Regions from separate parts of the Homo sapiens genome. Here region 1 is linked to region 2. The links are contacts of gene promoters, found by promoter capture Hi-C in blood cells and fetal thymus (Javierre and others, 2016). All regions are on one chromosome and are shown on one strand. The core of a region is centred on a gene start or on the middle of the fragment in contact, and the rest is flanking DNA. Distances in the headings are between cores, read along the strand shown.

Region 1 (5,112 bases), core at 2,397-4,896, 580 kb before region 2:
TGGGGTACAGGACTCAGCTGCAGCTCTAACTTGCTCTCCAGTGATGCAGATGCTGCTGGTCTGAGGACCACACTTTTAAGAACAAGAATCTATGTCTAATGTAGACGTTTAGAACCTGCCTGAGGGCTGGGTATGGTGGCTCACGTCTGTAATCCCAGCCCTTTGGGATGCCGAGGCAGGCAGATCACCTGAGGTCAGGAGTTCGAGATCGGCCTGGCCAACATGGTGAAATCCTGTCTCTACTAAAAATGCAAAAGTTTGCCAGTTGTGGTGGTGCGTGCCTGTAATACCAGCTACTTAGGAGGCAGGAGAATCGCTTGAATCTGGGAGGTGGAGGTTGCAGTAAGCCGAGATTGCACCACTGCACTCCTGCCTGGGTGACAGAGTGAGACCCTCAAACCAAACAAACAAACAAAAACAAAAACAAAACCTGCCTCAGAATCAACTGAGATGGACAGAACAAGAGGTAGGTGTCCTAGCAAAAAGTAAAATGAGCTATTTGGTAATCAGGCTATTCATGTTCTCAATAAACATGCACACCCACCTGATGGAACTAAATCAGAGCAGAGAGCAAATTGAATTGAAAAAGTCAGAGGAAAACAAACCAACTTTAATTGCAGGTCAGAACTGCAGAAATAAAAGGCATTAAAATTGCAATTAGCAAAAAACAAAATCCTGAAGTGTTTAGAGCATCAATATCAGCTACCATGGGGACAAAGTGAGAGGGAAAAAAAATCACAAATGCATTTTGAGCTTCAGGTCATAGCAGACATTTCTGAGCATAATAAAATACTCCCAAGGTGTGAGCGTCTGGGGCAGAGGTCAGTTTTTCTGACCGAGGAACTCACTTGATTTCTTGGGAGCAAATCCTCCAGTTTGAACTAAACCAACCTCTTTCCCTATAAAGGAGGAATCTGCAATCCATGGAAATTAAGAACCTTGTTCAAAATTTCACAGCTTTCTGTGGCTGAACATGGGTAAAGATTACTTCCATTGAATTTGGTGTAGAATTCTTTTTATAAAAGTGTTAGTTCACAAGTAGGATGTCAGAGTCAAGTAGGGCTTTTAAAAATATATTTTCAAGTCTTATTTCTAGAAATTCTCAGTCAGGGTAAGGGTGTAGCTCAGGAATCTGCATTTTGAAGACACTTCATGGGATTCTGATGTAGCAACAGGATACATTGAAAGCAGCTAATAGCAGATTCCCTTTTATTGTCTATGGATAGGTGACTTCAGATATTGGGAGAGAAAACCAGAAGTTTCAGTGGCTTTTCTCATTTTTTCTTTCTTTTTTAATTAATTTAGTTTTTTTGAGACAAAGTCTCACTCTGTCACCCAGGCTGGAGTGCAGTGGCGTGATCTCAGCTCACTGCAGCCTCTGCCTCCCAGGTTCAAGCGATTCTCCTGCCTCAGCCTCCTGAGTAACTGGGACTGTAGGCACCCGCCATAACACCTGTTTTGTATTTGTAGTAGAGACTGGATTTCACAATGTTGGCCAGGATGGTCTCGATCTCCTGACCTCATGATCCACCAGTCTCGGCCTCCCAAAGTGCTGGGATTACAGGCGTGAGCCACCGTGCCCTGTCCTTTTCTCCTTTTTTCTAGTATAAATTTGTTTTGGACGTGTGGCCCAAGTGAGCTGGGACCAGAGTTCTGAATCTGAAATTCCATACATGCAGCACACAGGGAAATAAAATAGTTCATCAGAGATGGCAAATAGGTGTCAGATGTCTTGCTGGTCTAGTCTGAGGTCACTGTGTTGAGAAGGATTCTGAGGTTATTTCTAGGGTTAGTGGGAAAGAGTGCTGCTACTGCCTACCATGGGCTCAGGAACTAGATGAAGTGGCTCACAAGTCAAGCACGGGGTTTTACCAGCGAAGGGAAAGCTTATCGGTTTTCTTTGGGTGTGTGCTAGCCTCCCAGGAAAGAATGGTGGCTGAACAATTTTGATATCTGAAGGACAAGGGAAATATGAAGCAAGCAACTCCCACCCACTTCCTCCACAATAGAATTTTATCTTTTAGTATTTCACTGCCATTACATTATCTCAGTGGCTTGGGACACAATCATGGCATCCTGGAAAGGCTGTTTTCCTGTTTTCTTTTGTCACATAGAAATTATTAATGAACTTTTAATAGCTAAATTTATCATTTTTAAGCCCATAAGGGCAGTACAATGGCACTAGTCTCTTTGCCTTTAGGCACAGTGCAGAAATTAGTTTTCATGTCCAGTTTTTGATCTCTAAATGACTAGTGTGAAGAACTGCAAAACACATCTTGTGTTTAAGGGTTACAAGCCACAGAGGCAAACATTTGCTGGCCATTGCCTGGTGGATGCTCTCGTTGTCTGAATTTGATGTTTTGAAGGCTCCTGATGCTTCTGTTTAGGCGTAGGAGATGTGTTGGTTAAAAGTGTGCATTTTGAAGCCACACTAACTGGATTGGAATCCCATCTCTGTCATGTTTTAGTTACATGGCCTTGAGCAAGTTATTCATCCTCTTTAGGACTCAGTTCCATCATCTGTAAAATGGCGATAATCATAATATTTACTCTTAGAAGCACCTGGGTTTGTGGTAAGGCTTACATGAGCTGAGGCATGTAAAATATTTCAAAAACTGCTTGGCACAAAAAATGTTTAATAAATGTTCGCTATTAATAAAGGTTAGCTATTATGTTGGTGGTGGTGGTGGCGGTTGATATTTTTCTGGCTATGCCAAGGGGAAGCTCAGTGTAGCAGGTGTGACAATATAGAATGGAACCATAGCCTTTCATTTTGTCTAATTTAAATAGAAACTTCTCTTTAAGAACATAAGTATGCCAATCCCAGCACTTTGGGAGGCCGAGGTGGGCGGATCACCTGAGGTCGGGAGTTCGAGACTAGCCTGACCAACATGGAGAATCCCCGTGTCTACTAAAAATACAAAATTAGCTGAGCATGGTGGTGCATGCCTGTAATCCCAGCTACTCGGAAGGCTGAGGCAGGAGAATTGCTTGAACTCGGGAGATGGAGGTTGCAGTGAACCAGGATTGTGCCATGGCACTCCAGCCTGGGCAACAAGAGTGAAACTCCGCTTCAGAAAAAAAAAAAAAAAAAAAAAAAAAAAGCATCCTCAAGTCGAAACTATAATACCTGAAAGAAAAGTGCTCAAGTATTGTGATATGGTTTGAATCTGCATCCCTGCCCAAATCTCATGTCAAATTGTAACCCCCGATGTTGGAAGTGGGGCCTGGTGGGAGGTGATTGGATCATGGGGGAGATTTCTTATGGTGTAACACCATTCCCCTTGGTACTGTTGTTGCGATAGTGAGTTCTCATGAGATCTGGTTGTTTAAAAGTGTGTGACACCTCCCCACTCTCTCTTAGTTCTCCTCCTGCCATGTAAGACACCTGCTCCCACTCTGTCTTCCCGTGAGTAAAAAGCTCTCTGAGGACTCCCCAGGAGCAGATGCCACCATGCTTCCTGTACAGCCTGTGGAACTGTGAGCCAATTAAACCTCTTTTCTTCATAAATTACCCAGTCTCTTACCCAGGCATTTCTTTATAGCAGTACAAGAATGGACTCATACGTATTGTTACAGGCCAATTATAAATGAATTGACAGAGATGAGAAATTGTTTAACAGAGTCAATTGCAAAGCAGAACCTAGTTGCAAAGCAAACTAGGTATTAAATACTGCTTCTAGAGATGCCCCTTTGAGTAAGAACAGAAATAGCATGGAACAGAATAAATTCCTTTCTCTTCCTTTGACCCTCAGAAGCGTTGGAGAAACTATGTGCCAAAGGATTACATCATTCATTGGATGATTGTTGCATAATGAAGCAGAACCACAAGCCGGTAAATATAATATGGATTTCTGGCGGGCAAACTGAAAAAATACAGATAATTATAAAATTGTCACATTTAACTACTTAGAAATTCTTCAAGTTGAAATTTGCCCATGACCAATCTGCATCTTTAAGATCTAGTGAACTCTTTAAGAATTAGAGAATTGAAGCACATGTTACAAATTACTTGGACAAAGAGGCTCAGTGACCTGGGAAAGACTCCCAATAGGAAGGAGGGTAAAAAGAAACTCGTAATCCAAATTAGGACAGGTGCTGCTGGCTTTTAGTTGAAAAATCTGGCTTAGGTTCCTGAAATGAAAGAGAGGCTTTCATTCAATATGGATAAGAATCTTTCATTCTGAAGCTCTTTAAAGTAACTACATGATAAACTAATATACATCTATTAGATATAAATGTGTCTCTCTTTGGTAATGTGTGATAAAATGAATATAAAACAGTGAAGTCAAAATAACCTTTTCTTTGTGTAGCTCAGCAATACATGCAGGCTATTTTGAAATTGGCAAATACAAATATTAACAAACAGGGGAAAGCCAGTGAAAAGGGGGAATATGGAGATTTGCTGAACTGAGTTCTGTGTAAGTGCAAATTGGTAAAATGGAATTCACAGCTCTCCCCCCACCTGCCACAAAGTGATGAAGTGGACTCAAATTGTGTGCAATAGAAGGAGCTAATGAAGAAGGGTTATAAAAGTGGCCCACAGCACCCCAAATCTATAACAGAGACATGTATTGTGTAGAAAAATGTGTTCCACTGCATTGCAAAAAGAAGAGTTTTTAATTTAAAAACCATACTATGGTATGAAAATAGATCCTACAAGTCCAACGGATAATTTTAATGTTGATTATTTTAAGTGAATTCCATCACCTACAAATGAAAACATGCCAGTTAATATACAACATGATTGAAGAACACCATTAATCATGTCAAATAATCTTAAATCTGATAAACAATTACTCAGTATGCCCTATTCGGGAAAAAGACTCATTCCTGAATGTGTTGAATACTTACGAATCCACATGGTTCTCAAACGAAAGGAGAATTGGAAAAGGTGAAGTCTTAAATGCACACTCCGCAATTGCTTCTATCACTTCCTAAAAATGAGAACACATGTATATTCAGTATGCCAGAATTTTTCATCTGTATATTCTTGAAAGGTATTAAATCTATTAATATAGTTGTCTTTTCCATTCAGAGAATTGTATCGAATGGCCTGAAATGGCTAGAAGGGATTTTGAGGGCTGCTGGACGGTGCTAATTCTGACTCTT
Region 2 (4,877 bases), core at 2,009-4,508:
CTGCTGTCTGTTGTGATTGTTTAGTGCCTATGTTAAAGCTTTCGACTACCACCCTTAGAGCATCCACAGCCTCACTGTGACTTGGTAGGTGGCCAGCAAATTATGCATGGCACTGCAACCTCTGGGTGACATCTTCCATTCCATATGGTGGTCAAGACAACAAGACCAGTGATTATACTGCTTTAATCACTTCAGGAACAAGAGATAATTTCTTCACATCCTAAACAGCCCCAAATTCATCATTTTTGAATGTCCTGTAACATTACCACGCTTTTACACAAGAAGCAGCAAAAATACAGAGAAGCTAAGTGATTTGCCTAAAGTCATGCAGCTTACTGGTGAAAGAACTAGGAGGTAAACTCAGGCCTTTGATTCAAGATCTGGTTCTTTTTTGTCTTCAACACACTGTCTCACTAAGGTACAATATAAATAGCCAGATAACTTGAACTGGCTTGATTCTGGAAGGGCAAATACGAGCTGAGAAGAGTAGAAAAGGGATGCCTGGGGAAGAGAAAGGCAACCTTAAGAAAGGCTGGGTCCCTTGTAGTCCACTGATCAGCATGAAGACCCAGAGAACCAAAGAGCCTGCAAGATAGCTCATTATATTCCAGATAACTTGACTCCTGAGTGCAGTCTAGGTTTTTTTTTTTTTTTTAAAAAAGACCTGAAATTCTTCTGGTCTTCTCCTTAGTGACTATGTCCTTTCTTTCAGGAGGGCTTCCTTGGAAACTCACTGCTGCAATGCTCAGAAGGAGCTCTTTTCAACTTCTTCTTTGGTTGGTATTTCACTAACGTCCTCTCTATTACCCTCAATGCATCACCCAATCTCTCTCTCATTGGTGTTTTTGATGATTTTTGTCTCCTCCACCTAGCATGTAAGGTCCGTAACAGCAGGGATTTTGTCTACTTTTTTCACCACCCCAGAATCCAGTCTAGGATTGGCAGTAATAGGTGAGCAAGAAATATGTGTTACAGAAATGCACATAATGAAAGTCATCTACCTGGATATACCAAAATGTGTTTTCATAGAATACTTTCATTCTCAATGTGATGTTGGCTATTCTCTCCCAAACAAGAAATTATAGAGAATTATTTAAAATACAGTTTAGAATCATCACTGTATACAAATCCAGAGCTTACGCTGAAACTCCCTTTTCTAAATTCTGCAAAGTCTCTTTCTCTTTCCTCTGCCCTTCACTCTCTTTCTCAGTAAATCCATCATCACATCACCTCTCTATTCAAGGATCTCAAAATGGGCAAGACCGTCTTGTTTATTGCTGAACTGCATTTTCTTTGTCTTTTTTTTCCCTGACACAAAGCATTTAATCTGCGTCTGAATTTATTGTTTAGATTCTATTCCATTTACAGAAACATTCAGTACAATTAGACTGGAACAGAAAGAAGAAAAGTGTGAAGCCCATGGTAAAAAGATGTATGTTTACATCCTTGCCTACAGCATTTAATAATTGGCACGAGCTTTCAAGGAAGCTGTGGTTCATACTCCAAGTTCCGTTTGCGCTTCCAGCTGGACAAAATATAGACACAGACGCACTCAGCTAAGTAATTGGATTCACTACCTGGAATATTTAAATTGTTTTCAGACACTGGAAAATGGCTTAAGAAGATTAAAGAAAAATACCCTAGAGGATAACAGGCTATAATTTACTAGGTGGAAAATCTTTTCGGCAAGAAGAACGCCTCATTCTCCTATAATTCCTTCTGATTAAGAGATGTATTAGTCATTTGGACTTAAATTTGCTTAGAGCCTGGCAACTCGGGTTTATTTCAGTAGGTTTTTCTTATCGAACCTTTAGAATGACACCCAGGACATAAAACTGATACCATAATGTTCTCCATCCGAAGATTCGCATGTTTTCAGCTGGATAACTAATTTACGTGTTTTGAAGACAACTGGGGTAGAGGGGAAGGGGAAGTCATTTGAAGTCCTGGGGTCTGGGCCGCTCGTAAAGCATTAGAGACCCCGGCGCTGGGCTAGGCTCTGCCCTACCTGGCAAACGGTGCAGGTAAATCGTGGGGCAAACTCTCAACCTGTCTATTTCAGGCAGAAGACTCCAATCAGCTCAGTTCTCAAAAGTCAGCCCTCCCCACTTGCCTGCAGGCCCATGAGCCCTCCAGGACCCCTCAAGGGCCCCCATTCTGTTCACGCCCTCCCCAGATGTGTCCCCGCAGCCCTTTTCAGGGACCCTCACTCCGGAGCCAGGCGCTGAAGTTTGGCATCAACGACCACCTGTTGGCTGGACCGTTGTGTCCTCCGCCGCCTTGGCTCCCACAAAAGCGCCAAGAGGGTTCGCAATCACTAAAGTGTTTTGAACTTCAGGTCCTTCCTTCTTGAAATCGGGCAAAAGAGGTAATAGGGGGTGCGTCCGCAGGCGGAGAGGGACGCGATTTGTTCACACCAGGCGCTTTCCAGTTGGTCCCAACTTCACACTCCCTACTTTCCGAACTCTCAGGACCTGTCACCAGGCAAAGCTTGCCCCTCCCTCTCCACTGGCCCAAAAGATGTAAGACCCTCAGGGGGCGCCTGCCAGACCCAGAAAGGATGGCAACTACTGAAGCCCGATGAAACAGGAGCGCGCGCAAAGCTTCTGCCCTTGGACATCCGCTTTGGCAGATGCCAACCTGTGCGCCCGAGGCTGCCCCTGCCCGCTCCCAGTGCGCCCATTGCATAACGCGCCCCTTGCCCCACCCCCACGACGCCCGCCCTGCCCGGTGCCCGAGCCAGCGCCCCGACTCGGGCCGCCCCAATACTTACATCATCCCACTTGACGAATTTGGTGCCCTTCTTGAGGCTGTCGGACACGCACACGGGCTTGAGTTGCAAGGCGTGCACTCCGGGTTGAGCCCCGGCCATCTGGGCTCATCTGGGCTCCGGGCGGCCCGGGCGAGCGCGGCAGGGACTGGGGACCGTGCGCGGGGCGCGGGGCGCGGGGCGCGGGCTCCTTTCTCTGCTCCGGAGGCGCTCGACTCTGCTCCCCGCCGGCCTCCCCGGCCTCCCGGCCTCCGCACCTCCCTCCGGCGCCGCTCAGCAGGCAGAGCGCGCGGGGGCGCAGCGCCCGGCCATGCCCCGGGCGGGACGCGAGGTCTGGAGCCCGCGGTGGATGAGGAGCCTCGGAAGGCGAAGAGAAGCCGAGCCGGTCAGCCGAGGCTGCCAGTCGCGGCGGATTCTGCTCCTCCGCCGCCGCCGCCTCAAAGCGCACCATTCAGCACATCCTCTATACACAGAGGGAGAGAGCGAGTGACACACGCCCGGCGCCCCCCCTAACCGCTCTTTTCCCTCCTCCCTCCTCCTCCCCCCCGCCCCCCTTCCCCGCCACCCTCGCTCGCTGGGTCCTTCCTTCCCCCCGCGGCTCCCAGCCCAACTTTGCACGCTGGGTCAGGCGCCAGGAAGCGGGGACGCAGCGGCACCTCCTGGCTCCCGAGCCCCATTGCAGCCAACGCCTGCCTCCCGCATTCGCTCTGAGCATGCCCCGTGCCCTGGTTGCAGAGGTGCTAGGGGTCCCCAGGAGCCTTACGCTCTTTGGGGTTTTCTTGGGAATTTGGGCTCGAGCTCCGGAGCGTCTTTGGATCCCAACTGGCTGGGAAAAGGGGCCCATCGGGAGGAACCAAAGAGGCAACCCCTGGCTTTTGGCTCTAGCTGGAGCTCTCCAGCGCCAGCCACAAACCAGCTTTTTGAAGAGAATTATCATTTATCAGCAGAGAAGAGCGCAGTTGAGAGGCTCTTTGAGGAAACCTGGCCGCGCCTGAGAGTTTGCAGCGCGCTGATCTTGAAACCCGGGCAAACGGTTACGTTGTGCTTTCGAGACAGAAAGCCCATCCTAAAGAAAGCAAAGGTTTTATTTTCCGAGGAAGAAAGAGGGTGCCCTCTCCCGCTCCTCTCCTTGAGTGTGTAGGATGTGTGGCGGGTGGGGGAGAGTCTTATTAATAGAAACTTGCTCATTTAGGAACATAGGTCCAGGAATGTTTGTCTTCACTCCTTCCACAAACATTTCTCAATTCAAGAAAGAAAGGGAGGGAGGGAGGGAAGAAGGGAAAGAGGAGGACCAGAATGGATAAAATTTTAAAGACTGGTAATACCAAATGCTTGAAAGGATGTGGAGCAACTGGAACTCTTTTTTTTTTTTTATTAAGGAGAGAGAGGAGAGGGAGAGAGAGAGTGAGTGAGTGTGAGAGAGAGAAAGAGAGAGAGAGAGAGACACACGCGGGAGGTGGGGGGGCGGAGAGAGAAATAGCTTGGAACTCTTGTTCATTGCTGGAGGGAATATAAAATAGTAAAACCACTTTGGAGAATAGTTTCTTATAAAGTAAGATATTTACTTATCATACAACCTAGAAATTCCACTCCTAAGTATTTGTCCAAAAGAAATGAAAACGTTCAAGTCTGCAGGGACTTGTAAAGTGATGTGAAGAACTTTCTTCTTAGTAGCCTGCAAATGTCAATCAACAGGTGAATGGATAAACAAACTGTGGTATGCCCAAATATTGGAATACTATTCCACAATAAAAATGAGTGGGCATGCAAGATCAGGGATGAATCGCGACTTTAAGCTTTGTAAAAGAAGCCGGACACGATAGACTGTATGCTGCCTGATTCCATGTGTAGGAATTGCAGAATAGGCAAGATATTCTATGTTGACAGAAAGCTTGCCTGTGGCCAGGGATAGGTAGAGATGGACAGGGAAGGGCTACGAGCACCTGATGAGCATGTCGGAAATGTTCTATATCGTGTGTGTGTTTATCAAAACTTGTAAGTTCTGTAAGTACGCCTAAATTGAGTGCAGTTTGTTTTAAATAAATTATATCTCAAAAAGGTTGATTTTTAAAAAGAAGAAAGAATACGAAGAGAGAAAAATGGAGAG

What was found. Contacts are between HindIII fragments. The CHiCAGO score rates a contact against its expected background, and 5 or more counts as called.
Region 1: a contact is called between a fragment that was not itself captured here and the fragment with the promoter of PLCB1 in region 2, in 1 of 17 cell types (megakaryocytes). The highest score is 6.0, in megakaryocytes.

Annotation. Positions count from the first base shown.
Region 1 is chr20:8,708,495-8,713,606 of GRCh38, reverse strand. It overlaps PLCB1 (phospholipase C beta 1), which reads right to left. Exons shown (of 32, transcript NM_015192.4): 12 at 4,855-4,937. Among named protein-coding and RNA genes, the nearest start is that of RNU105B, 120 kb to the left of the region's middle. The HindIII fragment of the contact is 3,515 bases long and covers 1,889-5,112 here.
Region 2 is chr20:8,130,647-8,135,523 of GRCh38, reverse strand. PLCB1 (phospholipase C beta 1) reads right to left here and starts at 3,258. Exons shown (of 32, transcript NM_015192.4): 1 at 2,774-3,258. The coding sequence starts at 2,872. RefSeq lists a silencer at 3,033-3,172. The HindIII fragment of the contact is 1,963 bases long and covers 2,606-4,568 here.